4 separate regions of the Homo sapiens genome follow, and regions 1, 2 and 4 are each linked to region 3. Evidence: promoter capture Hi-C in 16 types of primary human blood cells and fetal thymus (Javierre and others, 2016). All regions are on one chromosome and are shown on one strand. The core of a region is centred on a gene start or on the middle of the fragment in contact, and the rest is flanking DNA. Distances in the headings are between cores, read along the strand shown.

Region 1 (3,309 bases), core at 13-2,512, 460 kb before region 3:
TGACATGTCCCTGGCAGAGAGAAAGAAAATGATTCCAGCCAAAGCTGTGGGCCACACATTAGTCTCGGCCAAGTTTTCATCCCTTATGCCCAACATGGACAGAAGACAGCCTGGCACCTTTGCAAGCAAGTCCAGATTAGAGGAACGGCCAACCCCAAGGCTGACCTTTTGCCACATAGGAGCAAGGGACAAGGAGAATGGTATGAAGAAGCATAGCCGGAATGGTCAGTGACTTCAATCCTAATCTTTAACACTTTAACAGTTCATGAATGATAACATTGCAGACAGAAGCAAAAGAACATTTTTCTCTCCACCTTGTTGGCCAAACTTACAAGACTTTCATTCAAATATATACCTCTAAGGCTGGATTCTGAGTTTTTGTTTGAGAAAAATACTGTACACTGTTTTAGGGCAGATTTTCAAGGTGCTATTGTTGTTAAAAACAAAACAAAACAAAAAAAATTCTCAGTTTCTGTCTTTCAAGAACATCAGCACTATTTCTTCATGTGCAGGGCATCCTGGAACTTGGTGCTGGTGTATCGGGCATGAAAGCCTTTCTTGTTGATGGTGTCATCTGTGCGGAATCGAATCATCAGGGAATCACCTGCAGAGTAGATTTCTTCTAATGGCTGAGGAAAGGAGAAAGGGAAACGAGAAGGACTTTAGCTGTGATTGGAGTTGAAAATGAGGAGGATGGGACAGGATCTTATGCAAGGACACAGGATGTGTCTCTGGTACCAGAGACTCTGAAGGGCATCCAAACAAGCTCCTTTTCAAAAGAAAACATTGCAAATTCTGCTCCAGGGAGCTTTGCAGGCCCTGCTCTTCCAAAGATGATCCTAGGTGCATAGCTCATATAGAATCTATTATTTATTAAGTATGCAGGTGGGTCAGGTGCTGCACTAGGCAATTCCAGATCTTATGTAAACTTTACAGCAACCTTATAAGGCAGGTACTATCCCCATTTTTCACTTCAGGAAACTGAGACTCAAGTTCTCGCAGGTAGGCGGGACCCAAGCTTAGGTCCTTCTGACAGTAAAGGATGCACCATGAATCACCGAGCTCCAGGGTCACCATTATGATGTGTCTCCCAGGAGACCTGAAACAAAGACCATGGTTCAGGCCTCTGTCTCATCCAAGGACAAAAAAATGGGATGGAGCCACTATATTGGTCAGAAAGGTTTTGCCAGGTGGTCTGTGAATGGGAGCCACGTTCCAAGGCTGTTGCCTGCGAGGTTCTAGTGGAGCCAAAGTGGGCTTCCCCCACAGTTAACTGCTCAGTTAACCCCTCCAAGGGGTTCCTTTCCACAGACCTCATAGTTTGAAAGATTTTATCAAAGGCAGTGCATTGGTTAAGTGCCACTTTGTCATTCTTCCTTTTTTAGAGGGTGAAAGAAGATGAAGGGAATTATTCAAAGAAATATAAATGCCAATTTGAGTTTCCGTTTAGCACAAGGACCACTGGTGACTCAAAAATGATGTGCTATAAGTCCAGCCAATAGCAAAGAAGCTTGAGCGACCGGGCCTCCAGGCAACAGAAAGGAGGGGGCTGGTGCCCAGTATGGGCAGTGTCCAGTGCGGTGCAGCCAGGGGAGTGACTGGGACACTGTACTGGCCAATGCGCAAACTCCCACCAAGCACCAACTATATGCCAAGCCCAGTGTCAGGTGCTGGAGAAACAGCAAACACAATAGGCCCACTAAAGAAATCAATAATGAGAACATTGATAATGACCTTGAGCACAACTATTGTGTGTATAGTAAGTGACTTGTAATTTTCAGAGCATTTGGTTTTGCTTGAGGAGAGAAATGTGAATATAAGAAATATATAAAAGCATAATTAAATATTTTTAAAGCCTGAAGGCCAAATAAAAATGGAGGAGAGTGGCTGCGCATGGTGGCTCACGCCTGTAGTCCCAGCACTTTGGAAGGACGAGGCAGGTGGATCACTTGAGGTCAGGAGTTCAAGACCAGCCTGACCAACATGGTGAAACCCCGTCTCTACTGAAAATACAAAAATTAGGTGGGTGTGGTGGCGCATGTCTGTAATCCCAGCTACTTGGGAGGCTGAGGCAGGAGAATCGCATGAACTCAGGAGGCAGAGGTTGCAGTGAGCCGAGATCCAGCCTGGGCGACAGAGCAAGACTCCGTCTCGGGGGAAAAAAAAGAAAAAAAAAAAAAAGGAGGGGAGAGGGAAAGCCTTTGCAAAAATAGGTGAAAGTCCCAAAAGGAAAAGTGCTCTTCCATGGCTGGCCTCAGTAAGGGGCCTTCAAGGACTGGTCCCTGGCTGCCTCCCAACCTCCTCTCCTGACGGTTCTCCTGCTTCCCACTCCGCTTCTGCAGAACGTGCCTCCTCGCCGTTGCTCCTAAGTGGAGTAGGTGGCCGGGACTGAAAGCCGGGCGTGTCTGACTCCACAACTCCTGCTGTGAATCATCACACTCTGCCCCGGCCCCAGCGTCTCCGGGACTTACCCCAGAGCCACAGAAGCGGCCGAGCCTGGGCGCTGAGCTGTCGTAGCCGTCGTAGGCTTCCATGTAGTCGTAGCCGCAGTCGGCCTCCTCCTCAACCTCAAAGGTCCGGAATGTCAGCTCCACGCCGTAGCCGTCCTCTGCCACGATCACCCAGTCACAGCGGGCCTCGCTCGGGTAGTTGTTGTCCCCAAACTGGGCGTGGGAATAGAGCTCTTTGGTCTGCACTTCAGCCTTCAGCCTGCCCCCGCACTCTGGAGCAGAGAGAAGTGAGATGTCCCCTCAGCACAAGACACCCTCGTGCCTCCCGCCTGCGTCTGCTCGGCTTTCTCTACAGAGCCTGGTGCGTGCCTGGCAGGAGAGGCCAGGTAGTCTCGTCACCCCATTTGATGGAGGAGTACACAGAGGCCCCTGGCTCCCAGGTCAGGGCTCCCTCGGGGGTGCAAAGTGGCCCTCACAAGCCAAGGTCCCCTGTTCCCAGCTTGAGAATACGTGAGCATGCCATTGAAAAGAGTTGGCTGCTTTTTGTTTTTTCCGGTTATGGAGACATGGAGCCAATGGACGGTTCGCCTCACTGGTCGCTGGGATATGGGTGGATCTATTTGCCACTTTATTCCCTGGAAGTGTTGGATGCATCTGAGAAGGGCTCCCACTCGCCCCACCGACTGACTGCAATTTGTCATTTCTGCCGACAGAGGGCGATAAAAGCACATCGGAATCGCGGGTAAGCTCTCAACCCTGGAAACCTCAGACCCTAAATGACTGGTTTTTGCATTTGAGGGCATTGACTATAGGCCAACTTTGAGGTCCCTGTGGGTGTCACAGGTGAGCTGCACCTCAG
Region 2 (3,143 bases), core at 556-3,055, 310 kb before region 3:
AGAACAGCAGGGAACTGTAAATGTGCCAAGGTTTTCAGGCAGCAAGATGAAATTTCAGCAGGAAAAGCACTCAAAAAATTTAGCTAGATTCATTCCATTTTCTTTGTAAATGTCAAGATGTTACCTCTCTGGGTCTTCCTAAGATCACATATAGAAAAAGTCAAGTCAAGAAAAATTTTTTTAACTCTCTGCATAATCGATTCTATACCTCACTGAATGCTGGTGATAATCAAGAAAAATCTCAGATAAAATAAAGAGGAGTCCAGTGAACAATACTCTGAAGAAAGGATGGCAAATAATAAGGAACCTTCTGACTGTCCAAGAATAGGGATGTTTCCACCTGACACAATGTAGTTTTAACCTTCAGTCCCTCTCATCTTTCTCTCAAAGTTGGTTACTAATTATCACAGGGAATGGCTATCACAGCAGCTATAAATAAAACATGTGACTATAACATAGAGAATGATCTTTCCTTGTGGAATGTTTCATTCACTACTTTACGGACAATCTCATTTGTGTGTGCGCACACACATGATCACATACATAGTGTATATGAACTGAACAGGCTCTTTTGATGGAGAAACAAAGCAATCTTGGTACCCCAAAGGTGTCCATAAATGTCATACCAAGACTTAGCTTTTAATAAGATTACCATATCTTATATATATCTTATATAGCCAAAGGTGGAATTATCAAATACACACATACATACATAAATAGCCAATGGCAAGTAACAGAAAAAGGAGGAAAATTATCCACTCTCTGGAAATGTTTCCACCATGATTAGTCCCGCAGCCTTACATCATTCCTACAAAGTAACCAAGGGATCAGTCTCATTTATCAAGTAAAACACATCATTCCTACAAAGTAATTAAGGGACCAGTCTCATTTATCAAGTAAAACACTGAGCCCAAAAAAAAGTGAGTTACTTGTATGAGTTTCCCTTAAGTTACCTCTGCCAGAACTTAGAGTCATAAAGTTGTTCTGAGATGAAAACACAAGGTGTAGAATCCCACAGAGACTGTGCAGAAACACAGACACAATTCCAGAGCAGAAGGAAGCCCAAGGACTTTCAGCCTTCATCAATAGCAGCAGCAGCTACCCCTCACTGAGCATCTACCAGCCACGTGATGTTTATCCACATTTAATCACTGAATCCTCTTTATAGCCCTATGAGGTAGGTATTATTTCTATTTTGCAAATGAGTAAAGTTGAGGAAGAAAGGTTAAATAATTTGGCCAGAGTAACATGGCTATTAAGTGGGGAGTTCACACCCAGAACAGACTGACCCCAAAAGGCCAGCTCTTTCCATATCTCACCATGTAAATGGCTATCGTTACTACCTAATAACAGTCCCAACACTACACTTGGTGCTTTACACACATGACACTATTCCTCACAACCACTCTGAAAGATATGCCCATTTTACAGATAAAAATGAGACTTAGAAAGGTTAATGTGACCTCCATGGCCATAAAAAAAGCTGAGCAACAGCATGGACATTTATTCCAGTGCTTTCAGGCTCTCATGCTTATGCCTTTCCCATTTATCATACTGTTTCCAAAAGTTCTTTATTTTCTAGCTATTTCACACATTCTAGAGATTCTATCACATGGTGAAAACTATTACCTCTTCCTTTTAATAGATGATTATGATAGATCCATAAATAGTGGTTTTATCCCCACTTTACAGAAGCTTAGAGAGCTTGGGGAACTAGATCAAGGTGGAAAGCATACATATGGTACAGCTAGAACTTAAGTCCAGTCTGTAGATACCCAAGTATGCAATCATAACAAGTAAACTGTGCTGTCTCCTAGGTGTCTCCTGGTTTCTCCAAGAATACTCTGAGAAGTTTCCAAACAGGAATCATTCAGGCAACACCTTAACATGCCTACATCATGATCTTCCATTGAACCTAAGCTTTAAAAAATGCCAATTCTCAAGCCAGGCACAGTGGCATGTGCCTGTAGTCCCAGCTAGTTAAGAAGCTGAGTCTCTAAAAACAATAAATAAAATGAAAAAGCCAATTCTCAACATGAATGAAAAACTGTGATATGAAATTCTGTGCTATACAGAATTACTAGAATTTCTATAAAAATAGAAATTAATAAGGTAATAAATTATGTTGTGGGGAAGAGTCAAAAGGACTGAAATCAGACTCGGGTTTATTTTGGTGTTTCTGATCAAACAACAGATAAAATTTCTTAATTTCCAATTACTGTATTTTTCGGATTTAGAGAAACTCAGATTTACTCATGATGTTCAAAGAATTTCAAAACTTACCACACATTATCCCCAAGGCTGTGCTAAATACCGCCATATATCCAAAGTAAAATGATGTTTGAAATAAGCCATACATCCTGAAATAAAACAAAATATATATAGGATATCCAGTTTTACTTTCAACTTAAGGCCTTAAATATTAGTATTTAAAGGACAAATTTAGTTTCCTAAATAAAAGGTAAAAAAATGTCTCCACTTACTTTGTTTTGAAAAAATAGTAGTAAAAGGAATACATGTAAACATAGATTGCAGTTGATGCAGCAGAGAGAAAACTTGTCCATTGCCTGGTGGGGGGAGGGGGAAAGAAGATAAATCTCTTTTGAATGAATGGCACTAAAACAAAGATTTTAAAGCAAAGAATTTAATAAAACATCCTTTAAAGTCCTTTAAAACTTATTTAAAAAACAAATGCATAGACATGGTATTCAAATTTATCAACAAGGAAAACATCTAAGAATTAGAAAGCTCAATCTTGAATTTTGTCAGATTCCCTATTACCAGTGACCATAAATACACCATTTCCTTTTTCATATCTAAGTTTCCTTGTGTTTAGAATGGAGCAATGCTTCTCATAAAACTCTTTTCATATCAAGCACTTTGTAAAAAATATTTCTAACACAGTACTCCATTAATACATTAAAAATTTGATATTTTTTCTCTAAAATATGTATCATTTTTATAACTGGAAAAAAATCCCTATGCTATTTTAAGTAACAACATTTCTATACAGCTCTTTACTCCACTTGATAGATTTCAAAGGAAATCTTATTTTAAAATATTATGGTTCCCCAAATTTCTATCCACAAATAGGTACTTACCACCGGTAATCTTCTGCATTTAGTAGAAAATATGTGCACACA
Region 3 (3,182 bases), core at 361-2,860:
GTAGAAACTTAAAGGCCGCAAAAGACTCACACCCACCACCTAGCGGCGAAAAAAGGAAGTTTCAGGTGATACAAGATGTCCTGCCATCACACCTGAAGGATGGTTGTCCACAGCCATTTTTTAAAATCTCGTATTAGTCCTCTTCCTTCAACACTCAGGACAGTATTATGTACCCAGAAACTCAATACTTCCTGGCGTCTTCATTTGACAATACTCTTAAGCCAATGAAATCCTGTGGGACGTTTGCGAATTTTATAAAGATCAATGTTTTAAGATTGGCGGGGTGGGCTGGGAGTGGTGGGGGGGAAGGTGCCTTCCTACCCTTGCATTTGCATCTCAAGCCACCCGTACCCGAGGCCCACCCAGTCCATCTGTTCATTGGTAGATACACCATTCCGCCATTCCGCCAGTGGCTGGTGCAGAGAACCAGGACCACCACCTTTGAAAAGACCTAAATCAATACTCCAATGGGATCCTGATGTCAAGTATTTAACGACTTTGCTTTACCTACTACAGTAATTAAAATTAAGTCTTCAAACTTAAATTTAAATTTCTAAAAGCAGGAATGCACTGTCCTTAATCTTAAACACCAAAGGTGGGAGAAAGAGGCCAGAATCCTAGGGTACTAGGCCTACTGGTATAGGGCGATCTCTTCTGCTTTTTTCTTTCCACCCCATTTCTTTTCCCTTTCTCCTTTCGTTTCCCATCTTCTCTCTTCTCGTTCTCTTCGAAGTAACAGTGACAAAATTAAGGTGATTCAATTATTCCAAGAGGCTTGCTCATATAAAATATTTCTCTTCAAGCCCTTTCCTGAAATCCCAAATTAAAGCATTTCCAATAGTCTCTGCTTTAAGTATTCCTAGTTAAGTCTACTTTTGGAAATATTAAATATTCTCACTTTGGCACAATATTCCAAAATTCCTTGAGAAGTTCGCCTACGATCAGTCTTGCTAGTAGAAACCTTTTTTTTTTTTTATTTAAAACGCTCGATTTCCACTTTTTACTAGGTTTCCCAATGTTGGCGATGTCTCCCAATGACTTAATAACGTGTATCCACTTCACCTTTGAAAATCTTAGAGGTCAGTGCATCCACCGGCATCCGGGAATTTATTCTTATTTCTGCTTCTTAAACAGGCTCTGGGGAGGAGCAGTTTCGACGGAGAAGTTCATAGCAGCAGTTATTACGGAACTTGCAACAGTTGGTGCCGGGCGATAGGCAGGTTGGAAGTGATAAATGGGGCTGGCGTAAAAAACAAAAAGCCCCGGGGAGGGCGGGGGCAGCCGTGGCCTTGGGGGACAGTGCGAAGGCGGCGCGGGGCCAGCGGGACTGACTTCCGGCTGTGGGAAGGCGCCGTCCCGGGCGGCCAGAGGCGGCGGCAGCCGCGTAGAAGGACGGCGGGATCGCAGCCCGGCGGGCGGCGCGCGGGGCGGGTGAGCGGGCCCAGGCCGCCCCCGGGCCACGCCGGGGCCACGGTGAGGTGAGGCCGGCCCTGCCCCCGCACCGCCCCCGGCAGGAGGCGCGACGCCCGGGCCGCGGGTGCGTGCGCGGCCCCGGGCGACGCGGCTGGGCGTGCGCGGGGCCGCGGCGGAGGCTGGGCCGGGCGGGCGGCAGAAGATGGCGAGGGTGTGTAGGCGGCAGCAATGCTCCGTTGAGAGACGCGGCTTTCGGCAAGAACTGGATTCGTGGCGCCACAAGCTCATTCACTGTGTAGGTGAGACCCTCCGCCGACCGCCGCCGCCCCTCCGGCCGCCCCGCCGCCGGTCGCCCCAGACCAGGGAGGAAGCTGGGGAAGTGGCAATTGCTGCTCCGGCCCGCCCGCCCTCTTTGGCTCGAGCGTCCCCCCTTCCCCCACCCCCCGGAGTGTGAGCGCGCGCGACCTCCAGGCGGGCTCCCCTGCTCGGCCGAGCGCGCGCCGGCCCCTCCCCTCCGCGCGCCTCCCCGGGGCTGGCTCTCGGCGGGAGCGCGGGTTCCTCCCCCTCCCGCTCTCCATCCCCGCCTGCTCGCTCCCCTCCCTCCCCGCTCCCGCCCCTGCTCCCGCTCCAGGCCCGGCGCCCCGGCGCCGCCGCCGGCTTATTGTGGCGACTCGCCTCGCGGCGCTGCCGCTGTACTGGGGGAGGCGCGAGGGGCGCGGGCGTGCTCGGCCCCCACCCGCGCTGTGGCCGCCGCCGTCCTCCTCCTGCGCCACCCCTCCCCCACGCGCGGGGCGCGCCCCCGGGTCTGCGTGCACGCGCGGCGGGCTGCAGGCGGGCGCCCGGCGCTCGGGCGTGTGCGAAGCGTGAGGTGGAGATGGGGGCGGAGGGAGCTGGAGCTGTCACAGTCCCCGGGTGCGCCTGACCGAGCCAAGTGGGGTGTCATGGCCGCGGGGGGCAGCGGCTGCACTTCCTCAGCGGGCGGCGGTGGCCGGGGAGTTAATCCTCGACGCACGGGTCGGTGTGTGCGTATTTGTGTTCGGTGTCGTGCTGCGGGAGGAGGGGGTGGGACCGGGTCCGACCGAGGAGCCCCGGCGGGGGTCGCTCTCGTCCCCTCCCGGGGATTGGCCGGAGCCGCAGCCTCGCCCGAATGCCCCGTCCGCCCCCCGCCTCCCGGACCTTGGGCCGCCCTCGGGTGGCTTTTTCCCTGCGGGCCGGAGGGAGCGCGGACGGGGGCGCCCCGGGAGGGGCCGGGCGGCCGAGCTGCGCCTCTCACACTGTGTGTTTTGTCTGTTTTTCTCTCCCAAGGTCCCGTTTCCCTCTGTGCGGCGGCCGGCGGGACCATAAGGGCTTAACTCATATATTTAACCCCCCTCCAAAAAGTAAGTGGCCCGTGTGGTGTCTCCGCTCCGCCCGCCGCCCCCTAGCCCCAGTCCATCCTTGTGTCTGACTCTCCTGTCCTCCAGCATTGTTACTTCCCCGTCTTTGCTTCGGTGCTGCTGGTGTGTGGGGAGATGCCCTCTCGTCGTCCGCTGTCCCCCACGCCCAGTCCTCGGGGAGGCCCAGAATTCCAGCCCCTTCTCCCCCAGGGGAATATTCTTGGGAACCAGGTCTTTCCCGGCAGAATCTAGGAGAGTCTATCCGTTCGCTTGGGCCCCTCATTCCCTCCTTCCCGACAGGGTTTCGTTGGAAGGAATTATGCAAATCCTGCTTTCTGGTGTCCATTCAGCGGCAATTTCATGCGGTGAGAAGTTCTCTTTGTTGTGCGAGGG
Region 4 (3,172 bases), core at 120-2,619, 490 kb after region 3:
CTCCATTTTCATCCAAACAGGTATTTTTCTCTGCTACTACGTACCTCCTCAGAGCCCATCCCCCCTACTGGTCTGAGGCTTTTTTTTAAACAACTTTCTGGACATAGCCCCTCTTAAGACTAACAACCTATAGCCAGGCGTGGTGGCTCACGCTTGTAATCCCAGGATTTTGGGAGGCCGAGGCAGGTGGATCACCTGAGGTCGGGAGTACCAGACCAGCCTGACCAATATGGAGAAACCCCATCTCTGCTAAAAACACAAAATTAGGCTGGGCATGGCGGCGCATGCCTGTAATCCCAGCAACTCGGGAGGCTGAGGCAGGAGAACTGCTTGAACCCAGGAGGCGGAAGTTGTGGTGAGCGGAGATTGCGCCATTGTACTCCAGCCTGGGCAACAAGAGCGAAACTCTGTCTCAAAAAAACAAAACAAAACAAAAAGAGTAGCAACCTAGGCCGGGCGCAGTGGCTCACGCCTGTAATCCCAGCACTTTGGGAGGCTGAGGCGGGTGGATCACCTGAGGTCAGGAGTTCGAGACCAGCCTGGCCAACATGGTGAAACCCCGTCTCTACTAAAAATACAAAAATTAGCCGGGCGTGGTGGTGGGCGCCTGTAATCCCAGCTACTCGGAAGGCTGAGGCAGGAGAATTGCTTAAACGCAGGAGGCGGAGGTTGTAGTGAGTGGAGATCGAGCCACTGCACTCCAGCCTGGGCGATAGAGCGAGACTCCGTCTCAAAAAAACAAACAAACAAATAAACAAAAAGACTAGCAACCTCCTCTCCAGCAATGCCAACCCCAGTCCAGGCCCCCATCCGCCCAGGATCTCGATCAAAAAACATTAATCTGTGGCCTTTCTTTGCCATTTCCAACTCTGCCACCTCCATCGAACGACAAGGTCCCCTTCTTCCTTTCCATTCCCGTCAGCTTCATTTCCCTAATCTCCGTACAAATCCCTAGCCTGACTCCCTTTCCTTTCCATCCTCACCAGACGCCCGCATGCCGGACCTCAAAAGCGCAAACGCTAAAAACCGGTTGAGTTGACGCACGGAGAGAAGGGGTGTGTGGGTGGGTGGGTGTGTGTTAGTGTGCGTGCTTGCTTGTGTGTGGAAGAAACCAACAGGGTTCACGCTGGTGCCCATTTCTGGAAATGCCAATCGCGCCCGACTGCGGGAGCCAGGATCAGGTCCCCAGGGCGCCCTTGCAGACAGCACCCTGAGCGAAGGAGCTCAGAAGGCAGTCCGGCTTCACCCAGACCCCCAATCCCACAGAAGCGCCGTCCCCCAGCGGCACAGCACCCCCTCCCCGGCGCGGTGGTAGGGCCCGACGTGACGTCACCCATTGTTTACAAATCAACCCGAGCCGGCAGGATTCCGGCTCCCGCGGCTGCAGGCGCGCGGCTAGAGTGCCTGGCGGGCTCCGGCTTCCGCGTCCGCCCCGGCCCCGGTCCAGACTTAGTCTTCAGCTCCGCGCCCGCTCCGCCGCGGCCCACCGCGCCCGCCGGCAGCCGAGCCCCCAGCGACGCCCGCACAGCTCCGGGTGCCCAGACAGGGGGCCATGCCGTGCCGGAGGGAGGAGGAAGAGGAAGCCGGCGAGGAGGCGGAGGGGGAGGAAGAGGAGGAGGACAGCTTCCTCCTACTGCAGCAGTCAGTGGCGCTGGGCAGCTCGGGCGAGGTGGACCGGCTGGTGGCCCAGATCGGCGAGACGCTGCAGCTGGACGCGGCGCAGCACAGCCCGGCCTCGCCGTGCGGGCCCCCGGGGGCGCCGCTGCGGGCCCCGGGGCCCCTGGCTGCGGCGGTGCCGGCGGACAAGGCCAGGTCCCCGGCGGTGCCGCTGCTGCTGCCGCCCGCGTTGGCGGAGACTGTGGGCCCGGCGCCCCCTGGGGTCCTGCGCTGCGCCCTGGGGGACCGCGGCCGCGTGCGGGGCCGCGCTGCGCCCTACTGCGTGGCCGAGCTCGCCACAGGCCCCAGCGCGCTGTCCCCACTGCCCCCTCAGGCCGACCTTGATGGGCCTCCGGGAGCTGGCAAGCAGGGCATCCCGCAGCCGCTGTCGGGTCCGTGCCGGCGAGGATGGCTCCGGGGCGCCGCCGCCTCCCGCCGCCTGCAGCAGCGACGCGGGTCCCAACCAGAAACCCGCACAGGCGACGACGACCCGCACCGGCTTCTGCAGCAGCTAGTGCTCTCTGGAAACCTCATCAAGGAGGCCGTGCGAAGGCTTCATTCGCGACGGCTGCAGTTACGTGCAAAGCTTCCCCAACGCCCGCTCCTGGGACCTCTGTCGGCCCCGGTGCATGAACCCCCTTCGCCTCGCAGCCCTCGCGCGGCCTGCAGTGACCCTGGCGCCTCCGGGAGGGCGCAGCTCAGAACTGGCGACGGCGTTCTTGTGCCTGGCAGCTAACACGCCCGGGGTGGCCACAGCGCCAGCCTCAGACTGGAGGGCAAGGGGTTCCCTTGAGGGCTGCAGTTCTACTCAGGCTGGTGGAGAACTCTGGCTTTTGGAAGCGAGAGTAAAAAGCTAATGACGAGGAACCGAAAAATCGCGAGTGTTTCGCGGGTAACTGGGGTTGAGGGCCAAAATATTTGGAATGAAGGACTTTGGCCCTATTTAAGGCAGATTTTACAGAGCGCACCTCAAACGTACAAGTCAGTAGGACTCCTTATTTGGCGTGACCCGACCTGGCCGCGGAGCCTGCATTTCCTCGCAGCCTCTCAGTGCCCTCCAGCCCCGCGACCATGTGGCCACAATCCACGCTTCTCCGGATCGCGGTGCGCCGGAACCACGGAGGATGATGCCAGTTACTTGCTTTACCTTTTCAGGGCTGGCTCCTGATCCACTTTGGGGGAGGAGAACATGAGTAGATAATTTCAGGGTGCAGCCCAATCTGCCAGACTTAAAAAAACCATCTTGTGTCTTTGGAGGTGCTGCTTAATACCAAACATGCGGTGCCATGAAGGGACCCTTTGGGGGTTGAATAGGAGTTAACCCCTGCGCTCTCTTTGCAACTGTCTCTCTTCTCAGAGTGGTGGGGGAAGGCTGTACGACACGGGTGGGGAAAGGAGGTGGGGGCGGGGAGTATTGAATGGTGGTGGAAGGGTAGAGAGGCGCGGAGTGAACCCCACGCCCTGTCTAAAGTGTATTTTCAGAGCCGGCCCGCCTCTCCTCGGTTCAAGGTCACTG

Evidence for each region. The method cuts DNA at HindIII sites, captures the fragments that hold promoters and counts their contacts. A CHiCAGO score of 5 or more calls a contact.
Region 1: a contact is called between a fragment that was not itself captured here and the fragment with the promoter of LCOR in region 3, in 1 of 17 cell types (endothelial precursors). The highest score is 6.0, in endothelial precursors.
Region 2: a fragment that was not itself captured here is called in contact with the fragment with the promoter of LCOR in region 3 in 2 of 17 cell types (total CD8 T cells and naive CD4 T cells); the score reaches 5.7 in total CD8 T cells.
Region 4: a contact is called between the fragment with the promoter of FRAT1 here and the fragment with the promoter of LCOR in region 3, in 1 of 17 cell types (fetal thymus). The highest score is 8.9, in fetal thymus.

The regions. Positions count from the first base shown.
Region 1 is chr10:96,367,594-96,370,902 of GRCh38, forward strand. TLL2 (tolloid like 2) reads right to left here. Exons shown (of 21, transcript NM_012465.4): 20 at 2,472-2,722; 21 at 1-629. The coding sequence ends at 495. Among named protein-coding and RNA genes, the nearest start is that of OPALIN, 10 kb to the left of the region's middle. The HindIII fragment of the contact is 492 bases long and covers 1,017-1,508 here.
Region 2 is chr10:96,524,930-96,528,072 of GRCh38, forward strand. TM9SF3 (transmembrane 9 superfamily member 3) reads right to left here. Exons shown (of 15, transcript NM_020123.4): 12 at 3,102-3,143; 13 at 2,484-2,567; 14 at 2,284-2,360. Among named protein-coding and RNA genes, the nearest start is that of TLL2, 13 kb to the left of the region's middle. The HindIII fragment of the contact is 225 bases long and covers 1,694-1,918 here.
Region 3 is chr10:96,830,688-96,833,869 of GRCh38, forward strand. It overlaps LCOR (ligand dependent nuclear receptor corepressor), which reads left to right and starts at 1,611. Exons shown (of 8, transcript NM_001346516.2): 1 at 1,611-1,712; 2 at 2,719-2,792. It overlaps LOC102723665 (a long non-coding RNA gene), which reads right to left and starts at 1,771. Exons shown (of 1, transcript NR_135921.1): 1 at 1-1,771. RefSeq lists a cis regulatory region at 1-158, silencers at 1,194-1,493, 1,514-1,563, 1,574-2,293, 2,334-2,393, 2,434-2,673 and enhancers at 1,420-2,134, 2,135-2,850, 2,851-3,182. The HindIII fragment of the contact is 14,888 bases long and covers 1-3,182 here.
Region 4 is chr10:97,317,902-97,321,073 of GRCh38, forward strand. It overlaps FRAT1 (FRAT regulator of Wnt signaling pathway 1), which reads left to right and starts at 1,370. Exons shown (of 1, transcript NM_005479.4): 1 at 1,370-3,172. The coding sequence starts at 1,553. The coding sequence ends at 2,392. RefSeq lists enhancers at 684-1,473, 1,211-1,505, 2,595-2,754 and silencers at 1,345-1,654, 2,155-2,254. The HindIII fragment of the contact is 4,234 bases long and covers 1-2,240 here.